2 separate regions of the Homo sapiens genome follow, and region 1 is linked to region 2. Evidence: promoter capture Hi-C in human tissues and cell types (Jung and others, 2019). All regions are on one chromosome and are shown on one strand. Each heading gives the region's core, a stretch centred on a gene start or on the middle of the fragment in contact. The rest is flanking DNA. Distances are from core to core; before and after follow the strand shown.

Evidence for each region. Contacts are between HindIII fragments. The study calls those that stand out against the background at their distance.
Region 1: the fragment with the promoter of NAT10 here is called in contact with the fragment with the promoter of QSER1 in region 2 in 1 of the 25 tissues and cell types used here (hippocampus).

What each region holds. Positions count from the first base shown.
Region 1 is chr11:34,104,077-34,106,897 of GRCh38, reverse strand. NAT10 (N-acetyltransferase 10) reads right to left here and starts at 1,269. Exons shown (of 29, transcript NM_024662.3): 1 at 1,106-1,269. RefSeq lists an enhancer at 1,057-1,516. The HindIII fragment of the contact is 6,988 bases long and covers 1-2,821 here.
Region 2 is chr11:32,891,509-32,894,208 of GRCh38, reverse strand. QSER1 (glutamine and serine rich 1) reads right to left here and starts at 1,398. Exons shown (of 13, transcript NM_001076786.3): 1 at 875-1,398. The coding sequence starts at 1,083. RefSeq lists silencers at 626-1,025, 1,106-1,725 and an enhancer at 2,473-2,700. The HindIII fragment of the contact is 5,594 bases long and covers 1-2,700 here.

The sequences.
Region 1 (2,821 bases), core at 20-2,519, 1.2 Mb before region 2:
ACTGCATTATAAACATAAAGCTCATTTACTGAAACTTACCATACCTTAACTGTCCCTTCTAACCTTCCAATCCAAACAGATTTTAGCATATGTCTTACTATAAAACACTAAGTCACTGTCAAGGACCCCAATTTATACGTAAAGGAGAAAGTATAAAGAATTCAAATATCCCGAGGCAGAAAAACGACAGACAGAATTCACACTCAAGTCTTCCTGACTCCAAAGCCTGAGCTCTTCCCAGTTCGCCAATCTTCCCAACTTGTAAACCTTGTGTTGCCGGCCACATAAAGATCCCGCAAAAATCAATCAACAACTAATTAATGGGGGCTGCCTTTTGCTCTAGCTACTGTGGGAGCCCCAGAAGTAGTACCACAAGGCCCTTGACTTCAAGCTTGCATTCTTCTTGAAGAAGGTATTTAAGAGAATGAGATGAGGAACAAGAACACAGGTAAAATTAGATGTAAAAAAAAAAAAAATAGCTATACTGAGGGACCGGTCAGATGAAGGAAGGGCTGAGATTACTATGGGCTGAAGCTGTCATGGAAGGCCTGGATGGGGAAGGCCTTGAAGGAGATGATTATTTTTCGCTCACTCATTCGTCTATCTACACATAACATCTATGTGGCAGGCACCATTTTAGGTGCACTGGCAAACAAAACCAAGTCCTGAATGTGACTGCTGAATAAAGAGTATAAAGGAATGTGCACAGTGAAGGATTTAAGAACGTGGAAGGATCTGGAATCAGATTACCCTAAGTATAATGCCCAGACCTGCAGCCAGGCACTGCGGGCAAGCTCCACGGAAAACAACTGTTGTCACCCACCCATTCACCCCGACTCCCCAGTTACAGGCACTACTTAGAGGTGGTTATCGAGCCACGCAAATCCCCGAGGACGCTCGAGAAGCACGCGCCGAGAGCGGCTGCGTATTGGAGAGGTGATTCTGTTATCTTGGAGCGCCCCAAAAGAGGGGTGGAGGACAAACGGCGTAGGCCAGGTATCCGTCCGGATGCAGAGCCTTCATCCTGAGGCCGGTCCCCTCTCGACCCAGGAAGAACACAGACACCGATCTTGGCATCCATACCCGGCCCTCCCGCGTTGGGTACCTGCGCCCCGAGCCCGGGGGATCCCAGCCAGTGGAGAAGGGGAAGCACGTGGGAGCACGGAACAACTCCGAAAGAGAAGGCACAGCTGACTGCCCCTAGCGTATGCCTGGTGTCCGGGTCACGTAGTAAGCCTGGCTCCGCGGCACGCGTCCCTCTCAGGAACTGGTAGACAGCACGTGCGCAAGCGCATTAAAGTCGCAGAGATGGCGAGCGAGAAGGGACCTTCCTCAAGGCTGTCGCTGAGTAATGACGTAAGCCACCAGAAGCGGAGCTGAGGCCTAGATGTCCACTGCGGTTGCGCATTTTAGTCCCACTGCTCGCGGTAGCTGGGTGTTGGCTGCGGTTTGCCTCTTCACTCTTCATATCCCAGCTAAAGTACCTCGGCTAAGAAGGGCAAAATAGATGTCCGCACCCCAGGGCCTGCCCACGTAGGTCCAGGGTTTTCAGCGTCAGCCTGGTTACGCGAAACGCGACGGATCCAACGATTTGTGTTCAATTTAACCGATCCCCGTTAAGTTGAGGAAACTCGGCCAACAGACCTATTTTATTGGTTTCGCTTGGCCCTCCACCCCCACAGTACTGATCTTACAGATGGGAATCCTGTAATCTACCCATGACTGCGGCCGCTGTACTTTGCAGGCTCCCATTAGGCCTGTATATGGTCGTCAAATGAAATTACTCCCCCTGGGCTTCCAGTGAACTCCAAGAACATGACTACAGGGACAACCTATACATAGTGTTGCATTCTTGACTTTGGGGCAGATCGCTGAACTTCAAAAAACATTATCAACTGCTTGATGTTTCCTCCTGGATACCGCAAATGTCTGAATCCAAACCCCTTCCCCAGATACACTTTTAATGTCATCAGCAGCACTACCCATTTAATCCAACATCCATCATGAAATTTTTTAGTTCATTCAGCAAAATGTGAATATGCCCACGCACTATTCTGCTCACAAGGGATAGTGTCCAAAATGTTCCTGCCCCTCGTGGTTAATTCTAGGTTAAGTTTTAAATGCTATTAAGCAGAAGTATCCAGTGAGTAAAGTGACTAAGGATACTATTTTAGAAACGAACACTGAAGGCCTCTGACGGGGTGACACTGGATGGAACAAGGACCTGAAATTTAGAAAGAATGAGCCCTGAGAATATGAGTGAAAAACTTCCCCGTGCCAAAGATGTACATACAAAAGCTCCAAGATGGGGGAGTCCTGGCAAAGCAGTCAGTGTGGCCAAAGCAGTGGGCAAGTGAAGGACCAGATTTAGAATTTAATTCTAGTCATGATGAGAAACCACTGGAGTTTGTGGGGGACAGGGAAATGAGAAAATCTGCTTTGCCCTCTTAAAAGGCTTCCTGTTATGCAAAAACTAAATCACAGGAAGGCAAAAGTAGAAAAAGGAGAACAATTATAAGCTATTGTAGTCACCTGTGCTAGGATGGTAGTTGTGGTAGTAGTTAGAAGTATAAGATAACTCTGGATATTCAAGTTAGAACCACGTGGACTCACTTAAGGATTAGATGCAGGTTATAAAAGTACATTGAAGATGGCACCCAAAACATTTGCTCTGAGCAACTGGATGAATGAACAACTGGTGTTGGGTAATCAAGGAGTTGACTTGGAATATTGAGAAATTCATATCAAGATGTTGAATATGAGTTTTGAGAGGTTTGGGGCCTAGAAATATTCAGGACTAAAATGCTGATCATATTCAAAA
Region 2 (2,700 bases), core at 149-2,648:
TTCCCTTGGTCATGCAAGATGAACTCTTGAACCCCACGCTACATAATGCACCCGGACCTTAAAGGCCGAGATGGAGAAGCATGCTTTGGTTCTTCAACCTTTACGGCCTTCACTACCCCCACCCCAACCCCCGCCCCATTTCTTCCCAACTCTCAGTCACCCCGAGGCATAGAAGGCAAAGAAAGATTCCTTACTTCCTGCTGTTGTTAAAAGGGGAGGAAACCTAAGAGCAACTTTGAACGCGTGGAAGAAAAATCGCCTAAATCTTGGCCACCAGCGCAAACATATGTCACCCGGCCCTGGAGCCGCGTTCGCGCCCTGCCGGGCCCCCTCTTCTGCCCTGCGCCCCGGGGATTCTCCCGTAGCCCAGCCCTCCCGGGCCCCCCAGTGTCTCCGGGACGCGGTTCCGCGACTCTTCCTCTCCCGCCTCCGCAACCCTCACACGCCGGAGTCCCCAAGACCGCATTGTCGGCCACCCAGGTTCCAATACAATGGATCGCCACTGCCCCAAACTCTCCGGCGCCCCCTTCGGACCCCCGGCGCCAATCCTGGGTCTCACAGATCCCGAGTTCAGCCACGAGCCCAAACTTCACCATGTGAGAGCCCAGGACCCAAGAGGTGACGGAGCCCCACGACTCCCGCCCAGCTATTCCTTCACCCGCCGTCCCCAGGCGCGAATCCTGCACCGGGCGCCCCCACCTACCCGCGACCACCCCGTAGGAGTCATCAGCCGCCTCCCCCGAGCTGGCCGAGGGCGAGCGGAGGGCTCCCCGCCCGGCCCAGACCTCTGGGCGGCGCTGCAACCGAGCGAAGGCCCCAAACGCATCCCCGGCCTTTCCTGGTCCACCGCGACCCCGCCGCCCACCCTCCCTACCTGGCCTTGAGGCTGGGGCTGCTGCCGCTACTGCAGCTGCCACTGCTGCAGCTGCTGCTGGCGGCGGCGGCGGCGGCTCGGGGTTCGTACGCCCAGGCTGGGGCGGGGGGCTGCGCAGCGGCGCTGGCGGGGACGGGGGCGGCGGGGGGCGCGGGCGGCGGCGGCGGCGGCGGCTCGGTGAAGCCCGAGGTCGCGTAGTTCCTGTCCATCGTGGGGGTGGCGTAGGGAGGGCGGGCAGCAGCGGGGGATCCTCCAGGGCTCCGTGTGACGGGGGCGGGCAGGGAGAGGGGGCGGGGGAGGAAGAGGGGGCGGCGGCGGTGGAGGGAGCTGCCCCCTCACATGGCCCCGGCGAGCAGGCGGGAGAAGGGCGCGCTGGCGAGTCTGGGCCGCAAAGACCCGGGCCGCGGCGGGCGGCGAGGCCCCAGCTGGGCGTCAGGGAAGCGGAGGCACCCGCGGCCGGGACTCGCGGCGACGGCGGCGGCGGCGGCGGCCGCTGCGCCCCATGTTGGTGGATTTCCCAGGATGCACCTCCCGCCCCCCTCCGCCCCGCGGCCTTGCCCCGCCTCCCCTCTGAGCCCCGCGCTTGCCGCTCGCGGGGCTGGCGGGCGGCCGCGAGGCCTCCGCCACCGCAGGACGCTTCGCGAGGGACAGTTGGGGCCGAGAAGGCGCGGGTCCTGCGGGGCCCGGCCGACTTCAGGGACTCCGAGGGGCGCCCGCCAGCCGGAGCCCGCGAACCGCAGACTTCCCGCCTTCCGCAGCCCGGAAGGGAGCTGTCCGCACTCGCCGCGGCCCGCGTGGGAAGGGACCGCGCCTGGCTATCGCCCCGCGCGGGGGAGGGGAAGTGGAGTGGAACCCAGCGTAGGGCGCTGCTCAGGGGTAGCCGGGTCAACGCTTTGCTTGGAGCTCACTATTTGACCCTTCGGGTTATTTTGAGGGACTCCAGTACTCAGTTCCCTGATCGCGATTTCTTTCTCTGCGCCCCAATCCAGAAACAGCTGAGCGAGCTCTTTTGCAGTTCCGCTTACTCCCTCCCCAAAGCTTGCTGGGCTAGAGGACCCTTTTCCTGCTGTTAGGGGAGATTTATATTCAAAGAGATTCAAATTCAAACGTATTATTTTCCAATCCTCGCTGAAAGGGCCTTTCCCAAGGGCTCTTATTAACTGTCCCCACCCCCACCTTGGGGATTTTTCTCGCTCTGGGTTTCAGAATCTTCTATCCCAAGATAGATAACCACCTCTTCATTGATTAATCCAACTACCATCTGGATGACTTTAATTACAATAAATTTAAACTCACCATGCACTCTGATGTTGAGGGGTTTTGTTTGAGACTTGGAACTTCAGCAGGACTCTCTCCCCAAACATTTCCTATCTGATCTCCAAGCTGCTTGGTGTGCGGTAATTTAATGACTATTTGCGGTTCTTCTGTTGCATAGCAGAGTTGTATTTCTTGTAATAACTCACAAGTATTGAAACTAGGGAATCGTACAAATCATCGTTTGGCCCTTGGGCCATAAATTTAAAGGTTAAAATAACAGTAAAATTTCTATTTAATGACCACCTCCTTTTAAAAATCAATATTGGTTTAACACCTATTATGTGCTTAGCACAGAAATCTATCCCTCAAGATAAGCATAACATAAAGGTTTAAGCAAATCAGCCGTAGTGAAAGACCTAATAAACTTGATACGCTATCTCTGATGACCATTGAAAAAGTTTAAACTTTGGTAATAATCTGGTGTTGGATCTGCTATGCCTTGCGAGATTAATTTTGTTCTGGAAGATCCTGTTTTCCTCCTGGCGCCTACATCCTTTTGTTCCTATTCA